Regions from separate parts of the Homo sapiens genome. Here regions 1 and 2 are each linked to region 3. The links are contacts of gene promoters, found by promoter capture Hi-C in blood cells and fetal thymus (Javierre and others, 2016). All regions are on one chromosome and are shown on one strand. Each heading gives the region's core, a stretch centred on a gene start or on the middle of the fragment in contact. The rest is flanking DNA. Distances are from core to core; before and after follow the strand shown. Region 1 overlaps FNDC3B (fibronectin type III domain containing 3B). Region 2 overlaps FNDC3B (fibronectin type III domain containing 3B). Region 3 holds the start of NCEH1 (neutral cholesterol ester hydrolase 1).

Region 1 (3,782 bases), core at 245-2,744, 370 kb after region 3:
ATCAACACAACTAATTAACAAATATTACCCAATGATTTTCACTTTCAATTCAATGTGTGTAAGTTTTTCTCCTATATACAGTCCCTGAGTAGTAGATGTCTGTCATTTTTTTAATTGTAAAATAATTAGTTGGTTGACAAAATATTTTCCCTTTCTTGGGACATGAAATAAAAATATGCTGATTTTTGACAAAACAGGGCAATCTGCTTTCATATTTCTCAGAGGACATCCAAGAAAACTAAGTCAGATGCCCACTGCAGTTTAATTTTTAATGAATAAAAATATACTTGGAATTGTTGGTGATCAAATTCTAGGTATTTCTTCTAGTTACCGGTATTTTCCATTTTGAAAATAAATGCTTCTGTAATGTTTTCTCAGTGTGTTCCCATCACCTCACCTATTCAAGGGTATCCACGGCAATCCTGATGTTACCATCAGTGACCACACTGCTCAGAGCCAGGAATTGCTAGAGACTTACCACACTTTGAGAGAGTCACAGCCACCTGAACCACCCATTTTAATGGTGGCATATTTGATACTTCAAAGGTTTGGAGCAGAGTAAAAACTTGCCAGGCTAACAAAATATATGACTGTCCTTGTCAAAATGAGAGAAAAAAGACGGCGGGGAGGGGGGAAACAAAAAACCACCTCTCAACATAACATGCAAAGATGCTGGGGAGTTGGGGAAGCTCTCTGAAATGGACCTCAGAAGGTGACTACAGCGATATATATGGTTAATTTCTAATACAACAGGAATAAACCCAAGCTGAAGATAGTTTCTTTATAGGATAAATCAGTGAAAGGGCTGAGAAAAGTACAGCTCACACCAGCCCAGTTGCACATTTATCTTTGTTGTGGCAGATAGTAACTGAAAAGTTGATGAGAGAATGGGGTAGACACAACAGTGTGCTCATCACTATCCATCTTCTTTTCGCTTACATGATTATAAGTTCAGGTACATAGGCGTTAATGTTCAGACTTTTTTGTTTTCACTTAAGTATCATTGTTGTGTCTGAAATTCTTTTCTATTGGAGAATTAGGAGAAATCCAGTTTTGGGCACTCTGCCTAAGGAATAGCCCTTCTTTTATTCCTTTACTTTCTTAATAAACTTGCTTTCACTTAAAACAAAAAGTCACTGCAAGTTGGGCTGTCTTATTTTTTTAAAAAATCATCAATTAATTAATTCTATTTATTTGCATGGAGCCCATCTACACAAACCACTGGCACTTTGGACGGGGCATTTAGCTGGCTTTACCCACACGCTTCTGCCCTTTTATGCTTCATCAATCTCTGAGCCCACCCAAAAGCCTCACAGTTACTGGGACTCCCACTGCTCATTATTCATCTCCCCCTAAATCCACATCATTTGGCAATTTCAAAGAAAAAAAGGACAACAACCTTTATGGATATAACATAGACATATATATTCTCAATTTTTGATAGCTCAACTTGACAACTCCAAATGGAGCAATAGAAGGAGAGAGTCCTGTAGTTTTCACGTGAAACAAAACAAAAACAAGCTGGTGTCCCTGGCCACTACCCTTCTCTAGTTGTAAAAACTGACCTAAGATGTTGCTGGTTCATTTAGACAAGACAGTATAAAACTTTTATTAGAACTATTATCTAATCCTAATTTCCCTGAACTGATAAAGTCAATAGAATAGGAAATTTTCCAAAAACTGTCGAAAATATCTACAGGGTGATATCCTTATTAACCTTGAGTGCTGTCTTCATAGAATGATATGAGGACAAAAGAAACAGAAAACTTCTAATGCTGGGTCTATATGAAATCACAACAATATCAACTCAGAATTAAGATTTACAGACACTGCATTAATGGTTGTCAAGGTTGCATCAAGACTGTCAAAAATTTCAGGAGGCTAGAGACAGAAGTGCTAGCACTTTGGGTTCTGATTATGCATTCTGATTCTGGTTATGGTGTATGGGCTTATACTCACCCCTCCATCATTCAGAGCCCTCACCCGGAAGCGATACACGGTTCCAGGAAGCAGGTTGCCGACGGTGCACTCCAGCTCTGGGCCATGGTACACTTCCGAGGCTACGTCTTCGGGCTCCGTCATCTCCACGCTGTACTCTGAGACCTCACAGCCACTTTCCGATGCAGGAACATCTGGGAATGAAGAATTTTTTTCATCTTAGAACACTTTGTGCTTCCAGTTGACCAAAGTGCACCAGATTTCACACAAGTTGAGCAAAATATCACATAGGTGGCCGGCCTCAGTATCTCCCTTACAAAAGAATCCATGCCCACCAAAAAAGAGATATAAAAATAAAAGTTTCTGAATGATGTTATCCATACTCTCCAAAGCGGGTCCACTGAAGTTTATTTAATTACATTGATAAAATAATCCCAAAATTATAGGAACATTAGATATATTTCTTCATATTCTAATGCTAGGTAAATGGAAGAAAAAGAGGGAAGAAAAATCTCTTTAATTGGAAACCAAAGGTCATGCTAAATCAAAATACAGGACCCCAAATTGGCACAATTTATTATACTTTAGACATAAGTGGTAGGAAAAAATAGTCTGCTAGAGAGTTCTGTACATTTGTACTTGTAATTATACATGTTGTAAACTGCTGGACACAACAGGAAACGCTAATACAGCTTAAATCAATGCTGTAAAAACATCAGGACCCACACAGGACAATGCAGCAGAGGTGGTTGCAAACAAAGACGAGAAAGAATTCCATGTGATCTTATAAACCATTCTTTGGTTTAAATTCTAAATGGAGCACAAAATTTTTTTCCCATGAATAAAGTTGAAAACTTTCTGAAAAAGACTGGCTGTTCTTGAAATACTCCCTAGAAATGTGTCCCCTGAAGTGCGGGGGATAAACCATGTGTGTGGCACCATCAGGAAGAGGAAGGTGAGGGACAGTGTTGCGGGTGTGGATGGGGGGAATGACACACATAAAAAACCTGGGTCAACATACTTCAAGAAGAATATGGACATCCTCAACAGACAAAAACGTATATGGTCTTTAGAAGAAAGCTTTGAAACTTAACTACAAAGCATAAGTCTTCATCTCCAATTGTCCAAATTGTCAATGTCAATGTGAAGGTTAGTTCACTCACCCCACTCTAAGTGGACTTCTTTGTGCTTTGGTCTACCCAAAACCCTCGGTGGTCGACATTGACCTGGTGCAATGCTTAGTGTGCGAACAGGGAGACTTTCAGAACACTGCAGGAGAAACACCAGAGAGAACCATCTCTTAGTTACTGTGAATTTATCAGACCTCTACATATCAGGCAAATTCCACCCCATAACTGCAAATGTTACCGAAAAGGGGTTACACACTAAATGTGTGCACATTATGGTATGCTTTTAATGTAATTAAGATCTTCATATAAATTTATGTGTGTGTGTTTTAAGGGTGGCTATAGACTTCATATGGCACTGGGAAAAACAAGAATGATTATTTTTGAAGTTAGATTAGCAGACATGAGTACTGTATATCCTAAGCACACAATTCTTTTCCTTCAAATCAAAATTAGAAAGACCCTTCATGAGGACAGAAGAGAACACAAAACGACAGCTGGATGAAATTTTAAAATGGTACCATAAATGGCCAACCACTCACATACAGAGCAGAAAAGCAAATAAACTCAATATTAATCAATTGATTCTGACATCAACCAGCAGGTACTGTTAATGCTAAAATAAGCAGTCCTTTATTTTGCAGGATCTGGTTGCGTAAGGCTAGTGGTATGGAAGCTGACCTACTTCCTGAGACGGGAGAAAATCAGGTAGAGCTA
Region 2 (3,850 bases), core at 909-3,408, 330 kb after region 3:
GATGGAAACTTTGGTGACATCATCCGCTGATGTTAATCGACACTGGTAGATGTCATATTTAGGATAAAGTTTTTTGTTTAAAACAATTAAATCTTTTATCTGATACATCATATTAACAAAGTACAGCAAAATGTCCAAAATTACCTTTTTTTAAAAACATTTTATTTGCCAATATTCTTTATTATCATATAGCAAACACCAATGAGAAATTTAACAGAAACTCTGAATCAAATGATTTTCTACTTGTGTATTTGGAACTGAACAAAGTTTTTTTTATAAATTATGCTACTGTTTCAGAGAACAGGTGGCATTTATTTTCATCTTTATGTTTGATATAAATGAACGCTCCTATTAAAAGTGCTGACGAAGAATGCACCTCAGCTTTCCTAATGGAATACATAATATTATATCCTGATTTGACAAAAACAAGTTCTAGGGACTATTATGAAAGCCTATAGAGTATCTAAATCCTTCAGAGTCATTGATCTGATTCTTCTTTGGAAGAATTAAGAATCAACAAGGGCTATGAAACATGATAAAACTAATTTCTTATCTGGCTATATTCCAAATGCATTCTCTCTTATGTGGGTTTATTATGTGATTTACAGAGCCTTGCTACTCAAATTATGGTCCATGGACCAGCAATGTCAGTGTCACCTGGGAGGGTGAATCTCCACCCAAGACCTACCAGGTCAGAATCTGCATTTTAACAGATTCCCGGGTGATTCCTTTGACATTAAAAGGTGACATGCATGACTTAGAGCTTCTGAATCACAGGCCTCCAGGGCCTATGCATCATCTCCCTTAACCTTCCATTAGTTCTACAAAAAAGGTAGACAGAATGTAGGCTTCAGTAGTTAGGTTAAGACTACTTCTCCTCGATGACATGATTGTACGTTTAGAAAACCCCATCATCTCAGTCCAAAAACTCCTTAAGTTGATAAGCAACTTCAGCAAAATCTCAGGATACCAAATCAATGTGCAAAAATCACAAGCATTCCTATACACCAATAATAGACAAACAGCCAAATCATGAGCAAACTCCCATTCACAATTGCTACAAAGAGAATAAAATACCTAGGAATACAACTTACAAGGGATGTGAAGGACCTCTTCAGGGAGAACTACAAACCACTGCTCAAGAAAATAAGAGAGGACACAAACAAATGGAAAAACATTCCATGCTCGTGGATAGGAAGAATCAATATCGTGAAAATGGCCATACTGCCCAAAGTAATTTATAGATTCAATGCTATTCCCATCAAGTTACCACTGACTTTCTTCACAGAATCAGAAAAAACCTACTTTAAGTTTCATATGGAACCAAAAAAGAGTGTGTATAGCCAAGACAATCCTAAGCAAAAAGAACAAAGCTGGAGGCATCATGCTACCTGACTTCAAACTATATTACAAGGCTACAGTAACCAAAACAGCATAGTACTGGTACCAAAACAGATATATAGACCAATGGAACATAACAGAGGGCTCAGAAATACCACCACACATCTACAACCATCTGATCTTTGACAAACCTGACAAAAACAAGAAATGGGGAAAGGATTCCCTATTTAACAAATGGTGTTGGAAAAACTGGCTAGCTATATACAGAAAACTGAAAGTGGACCCCTTCCTTACCCCTTATACAAAAATTAACTCAAGATGGATTAAAGATTTAAATGTAAGACCTAAAATCATAAAAACCGTAGAAGAAAACCTAGGCAATACCATTCGGAACATAGGCATGGGTAAAGACTTCATGACTAAAACACCAAAAGCAATGGCAACAAAAGCCAAAATTGACAAATGGGATCTAATTAAACTAAAGAGCTTCTGCACAGCAAAGAAACTATCATCAGAGTGAACAGGCAACCTTCAGAATGGGAGAAAAATTTTGCAATCTATCCATCTGACAAAGGCCTAATATCTAGCACCTACAAGGACCTTACACAAATTTACAAGAAAAAAACCACCCCATCAAAAAGTGGGTGAAGGATATGAACAGACACTTCTCAAAAGAAGATATTTATGTGGCCAACAAACATATGAAAAAAAGCTCGTCATCACTTGTCATTAGAGAAATGCAAATCAAAACTACTATGAGATACCATTTCACGCCAGTTAGAATGGCAATCATTTAAAAAGTCAGGAAACAACAGATGCTGGAGAGGATGTGGGGAAATAGGAACACTTTTACACCGTTGGTGGGAGTGTAAATTAGTTCAACCATTGTGGAAGACAGTGTGGCAATTCCTCAAGGATCTAGAACCAGAAATACCATTTGACCCAGCAATCCCATTACTGGGTATATACCCAAAGGATTATAAATCCTTCTACTATAAAGACACATGCACATGTATGTTTATTGCAGCACTATTCACAATAGCAAAGACTTGGAACCAACCCAAATGCCCATCAATGTTAGACTGGATAAAGAAAATGTGGCACATATACACCATGGAATACTGTGCAGCCATAAAAAAAGAACGAGTTCATGTCCTTTGTAGGGACATGGATGAAGTGGAAACCATCATTCTTGGCAAACTGACACAGGAACAGAAAACCAAACACCGCAGGTTCTCACTCATAAGTGGGAGTTGAACAATGAGAACATATGGGCACAGGGAGGGGAACATCACACACTGGGGCCTGTCAGGGGGTGGGGGGCAAGGGGAGGGATAGCATTAGGAGAAATACCTAATGTAGATGACAGGTTGATGGGCGCAGCAAACTACCATGGCACATGTATACCTATGTAACAAACCTGCATATTCTACACATGTATCCCAGAACTTAAAGTATAATGAAAAAAAAAAAAGATCAATACTAACAACAACAAAAAAAGAGACTACTTCCCTCTATAGTAAAATCACAGGCACTTTAGTTTTCAATTACATACTGACTTTGATGCTTGCAAACCTCACCATCAATGTCAAATACAAATAAACGATTTACAACTCTTTAAGACAAACATATGCTTGAGAACTGAAAATTGAAGATGAATACCACCATATATAAAATGAAATGTAAACTAGGTTTCACCCACTCTGAAGAATTATACAATAAGTACAAGTTAGGCAGTTTCTATCACTGATTTTAAGAAAAACATAGTTCACTGAGTCATTCATAGCAATAAGCAGAGGCATGGAGCCAGCCATACTCAGTTGCACATGTGCCATGCACACTGGTTCTTACCTGTTTGTACTCAGATTCTCTTCCAACCAATACCTGCAGAATGTAGTTAACAGGGTCACCTTTCATTGATGGTACCGTCTCCCATAAAATTTCACATGAATTTCCTTCTAACTGTGTTACTCGAGGTGCTGAAATACAAATCCACACATCCAAGCTCAAAATTCAAAGTATCATGTTAATAGTCAACACTTTAGCACTATTAGTGAGAACCCAGAGAGAGCAAGATTGTGCCTGTGTTTGCCCTGAGAGAGGAGCTGATTTGCCCAGCCTCTCATAAAACCAGCAGGGTGCCCTTTAGGCACAGAGAAGTTACTCCATGACTAAAAAGCCATTGATGAAAAATCCTTTGCCCATTATCCCATTAATAACAGCTTGATGTGGATCACATCTTTTTTTCTCCTATGGCAATTGAGTATCCTCTATGGCTTAGGCCCTGTCCTAGGTATTCTGGAAGATGCAAAAACAGGCAAGGTAAACCCTGTTTTCAAGAAACTTAAGAGTTAGTTGAAGGAAGGGGAGAGCAAGGTATGAGACGCATACAAAAAGAAACATCAGGGAATAAAAATGAGAGGTACAAACAAAACGTTGGGAATTTCCAGAGGAGGAAAAGAGCATACCTGGGTGAGGGTCTAAGGAAAGTTTGAGGAGCAGGTGACAT
Region 3 (4,300 bases), core at 1,590-4,089:
TTATTAATTTTTGTTTGTTTATTGTTTGGCTCTTCCTTCTGTATCATGCTTACATCCTCCCCTGAACCCCTCCCCACCACCCTCCAAGCATATAAAATCAAAGAGTCGAAACCTTACAGCCTGCCTGCCACAACTTCTTTATTTCCCAGTGTAGGCCAGGTATGTTTGTTGAATGAATGAAGTATTGAAAACAAGTGATGAAGGTGTTTATACTTATCTCAAATTAGTCTCATTTTAAAAAACTCTCAGATCTACAGAGGCTCTCAGATTTCTGATCTGAGAATTACTACAGTTTCTTTGTTCTTTCTTAGTTTCTATCTCTTAGTGTACTGCTTAAGGGAAGCCACACTTCACTGAGAGGCAGAAATAAATATTGCTACTATCACTTACAAACTAGAGGAATATGAGTAAGCCATTTGGCTGCGCTAATCCTCAAGAGGCTCATCTATAACACCGAGTGTGTTAACTGCTGGTGGAAGAGGGAAGGCTGAGTTAGGTGTGGGGATTTTTGGATTTGTTTGCTTGTTTGTTTTTGGTTCGGTTTGGTTTTGTCATTAGCTCTAAGATCTATGTTTTTATGAACATATAGTCAAAATCTAAGAGAAAAGTATTGTCGACAAGGTAAAACTTGGATTTATTTTGCAGATTTCCTGAAAGCAAGTAATGTAACTAAATCCAGTAGTCAGCTTGGTTTATATCTCCAGGATTATTCCTAATCACCCATAAAGATTAGCTTCTGGCTGGGCGTGGTAGTTCACACCTGTAATCCCAGCACTTTTGGAGGCTGAGGCAGGTGGATCACCTGAAGTCAGGAGTTCAAGACCAGCCTGGCCAACACGGTGAAACCCTGTCTCTACTAAAAATACAAAATTAGCTGGGCTTAGTGGCAGGCATCTGAAATCCCAGCTACTCGGGAGGCTGAGGCAGAATGGCTTGAACCCGGGAGGCAGAGGTTGCAGTGAGCCAAGATTGCACCATTGCACTCCAGCCTGGGTGACAAGAGCGATGCTCTATCTCAAAAAAAAAAAGAATAGCTTCTAATTTTCTACACATATACTCACACACAAACATAAACATAAACATTCCTATCTGTTTAGAGTTATGAGTTTAACCAGTAACTTAAAAGACAGAGAGAGAGAGAGAGAGAGAGAGAGAGAGAGAGAGAGAGAGAGAGAGAGGCCAGGTGCCGTGGATCATGCCTGTAATCCCAGCACTTTGGGAGACTGAGGTGGGCAGATCACAAGGTCAGGAGTTTGAGACCAGCCTGGCCAGCATGGTGAAACCCCATCTCTACTAAAAATACAAAAATCAGCCAGGTGTGGTGGTGGGCACCTGTAATCCCACCTACTGAGGAGGCTGAGGCAAGAGAATTGCTTGAACCCAGGAGGTGGAGGTTGCAGTGAGCTGAGATCGTGCCATTGCACTCTAGCCTGGGCGAAAAGAGCAAGACTCCGTCTCAAAAAAAACAAAAAACAAACACCAAAAACAAACAAAACAAAAAAAAAAGAGAGAGAGAACTTGCTTGAAATACCATGAAAGTGTGCCCTTCTTATCAGTTTTCCTTCAATGTTGAAGAAGAAGCCAACTGTTTCCTAAAAATCTCATTATCAGAACCAAATTTATGGTTATTTCACTTCTATTAATTTGATTAAATTAAAATTACCATCTTAAGATGCATAATTATATATACTAGGTGTTTTAAGACCTTCATCAATAAGTTTGGAGTTGTCATCCTACCACTTTCTTGAAACAGGTCTTCTAACTGTTTTCCTTCTGGATTTCTGGTTGAAATTTTGCTAGTGAAGTTTTCTCTCTCCCATTCAGTACTCACCCACCCCTCCTCACCCCCAATCATTAACAAGAAATCTGGGTTTAAGTGTATTTCTGCTACCATTGACTCACTGAAAGAATTTTTCAGGTGATATCCACACGTTTCTCCAATAAAAAGTTATTATTTTTTCCCTTTGTAGTAATTTGTGGAGAGATCTTCTGATGAAGGACCAAAATTCTGTGTCAAATTTTTACCCTCTAGTTTTAGCATTCATTTATGATTTTCTATGGATACTAGCTGGCATTCTATTTTAAGAAAAGCCTTTCTTCTTTCCTCATTTATTTATATTAATATAGATTGTTGAGTTTTATTTTAATCAATGGGTTATCCATTATGATGATTTATATTGATGGTAAAATTATCCCAGCTTCAGCCACTGGGAGACCCTTCAAGCTGGCAGCTGTGGACCTTTGACCAGTTCCTATCATTTTTTGAGCACTTCCGCATCTCTGGCACAACAGGTTCATCTTGTACTTTACAGCCCCAGCCCTGGTATCAGCCTTTTCTCCAGAGGTTGTGTCAAAAAGCCGTGGTTCCTCTTATTGGAGCATAGGATTTAGAAACCAAGACTTGGGTGCTAGATGTACTACTGGCCTTTCATTGCTTGAGCCAGAAGAATTTAATATCTTCTTTTGCCATATATCAGCTAGAACTTACAAACCACTCCAAGTCTGGCTCCAGAAAACAGAATTTTTATATCCTTTCTCAGTACTCTGAGTCAGAATGACCCACTTGCTTTGTCCAGAGACTCGTCACACTGAAACTATTTTCCGTTTGAGACCTTCCAGGAGGAAAGCCATCCTCACACGCATGCAGTACAAACCAGTGTCCTCCAGAGTCCGCTGTGCCTACGGCCAGAGCAGCGACAGAGCCTTCCTCAAACCTGTAGTGACTGCCACACTTTGCAAGGACACCGTAGAGGGGGCATGTCCGCGCTCCAACTTCCTCCCGACGCAGCCTCTGATTGGCTCCTGGGCTTATAAGAAACGCGTGAATGAGCAGCTGCCGCGGGCAGAAAGTTGCCGGAGGTCTCCGGGTGGTATCGCCCTTTCCTCTTTGCCAGCCCGCTGGCGAGCCGAGCCAGGGCAAGATGAGGTCGTCCTGTGTCCTGCTCACCGCCCTGGTGGCGCTGGCCGCCTATTACGTCTACATCCCGCTGCCTGGCTCCGTGTCCGACCCCTGGAAGCTGATGCTGCTGGACGCCACTTTCCGGGGTGCACAGCAAGTGGTGAGGTGCAGCCCAGCGCTGCTTCTCTCTTCCTCCTCTTACGCAATATTTGAAGGGGATACAAAATTCCTCCGCCGGGTTCCACGAAAACGCAGGTTTTTCCTAATGCATTGAGGCTGTCGCTTTTTGAGGTGGTCCAGTCGGGAATTTTCAGGGTATCGCATTCGCCTCCTTGCTAGCAGCGGGCTAGATCTGCATTTCCCCGTCTGCGTTTGTGACGGGGAAGAAGTGCTTGAATAGAATTTGACAACTGTTTAAACCTTCGTCTGTCCTAAATATCTTCCTCTTCCTTGGTTTGCAACGTCAAAAGGCAAATCCTTAAGCAGTTTATAAACCACCCTTCTTCACACTGTCGTTCTCCCATAGGGACCGGCAGAGGATAAATATTTTTAGGAGAGCTCGGGAAAAGCAGGCTCTGGTTCCTGGGAATGCAGCCACCTTAGAAGCAGAAGCAGGCAAGGGCAGTCTCGCAATGTCCCCAGGCTGTGGAGCGCTCCGTTCCCGGAGACAGCAGGCAGGGCTCTCCATCCAAGCACTTGAGGAACCATAGGGATCTCTCGTTTCACCCGAGGCAGATCTCAGCTCAGCCCAAGAAAGAGGACTGGGAGGCTGGGCTGGCTGAAAGGAGGTGAGGAGGCGGCAGCCCTGGTTTGCATGATGCATGTTTTCTGCTTGCCCTGCAGCATTTATTTTATGTCCTTGGCTGTCAGATAACCTTTTCCTGAGCGAGGTTACCTGCCTTAACCTGGGAGGGTAACATTTCTCTCCACTGTATCATGGGCGTGTGTTCATTCCTTCCATACACAGGAAAATATAACTGTCTCTGGTTTATTCCATGGTAAGAGGCATTATTTTTAGTGTCAGAGAATCTAAAATCTAAACTACAGTCTGCAGCCAAGGCTGAGCCCTCTGATTGGACAGTATTTCTGAGCAGCCTGCTCTATCTAAACTCTAACCTTCTCCAAAACCAAGCCTCCTCCCTCCCCACAACCTTGGGCTTTAATCTCAGAATATTTTTATAAACTCTTTCTTTCAGAAATGACAACTAGAGAAAGAGAAAAAAAATCATTTCAACCTGAGAAAGCTGATTTTAAAAAAGTCATGATTTTCCCAGAGGGTTTATGTTCCTGTTCCCTGTCCACTCATTATGTGTAGGATTACATAATCTGTGGGGCTTTATCCTATGAAAAGTCCCCTTACTAGGATATTGCAGCACATTCCTAGCGTGGATTTGCTTTTCC

The links. The method cuts DNA at HindIII sites, captures the fragments that hold promoters and counts their contacts. A CHiCAGO score of 5 or more calls a contact.
Region 1: a contact is called between a fragment that was not itself captured here and the fragment with the promoter of NCEH1 in region 3, in 1 of 17 cell types (monocytes). The highest score is 5.7, in monocytes.
Region 2: a fragment that was not itself captured here is called in contact with the fragment with the promoter of NCEH1 in region 3 in 1 of 17 cell types (monocytes); the score reaches 5.1 in monocytes.

The regions. Positions count from the first base shown.
Region 1 is chr3:172,342,436-172,346,217 of GRCh38, reverse strand. FNDC3B (fibronectin type III domain containing 3B) reads right to left here. Exons shown (of 26, transcript NM_022763.4): 18 at 3,102-3,207; 19 at 1,960-2,132. Among named protein-coding and RNA genes, the nearest start is that of GHSR, 100 kb to the left of the region's middle. The HindIII fragment of the contact is 3,052 bases long and covers 1-3,020 here.
Region 2 is chr3:172,380,436-172,384,285 of GRCh38, reverse strand. FNDC3B (fibronectin type III domain containing 3B) reads right to left here. Exons shown (of 26, transcript NM_022763.4): 25 at 3,193-3,320. Among named protein-coding and RNA genes, the nearest start is that of GHSR, 66 kb to the left of the region's middle. The HindIII fragment of the contact is 8,032 bases long and covers 1-3,850 here.
Region 3 is chr3:172,709,606-172,713,905 of GRCh38, reverse strand. NCEH1 (neutral cholesterol ester hydrolase 1) reads left to right here and starts at 2,839. Exons shown (of 5, transcript NM_020792.6): 1 at 2,839-3,059. The coding sequence starts at 2,922. RefSeq lists enhancers at 2,389-2,528, 2,573-2,867, 2,789-3,058, 2,188-3,387. The HindIII fragment of the contact is 17,687 bases long and covers 1-4,300 here.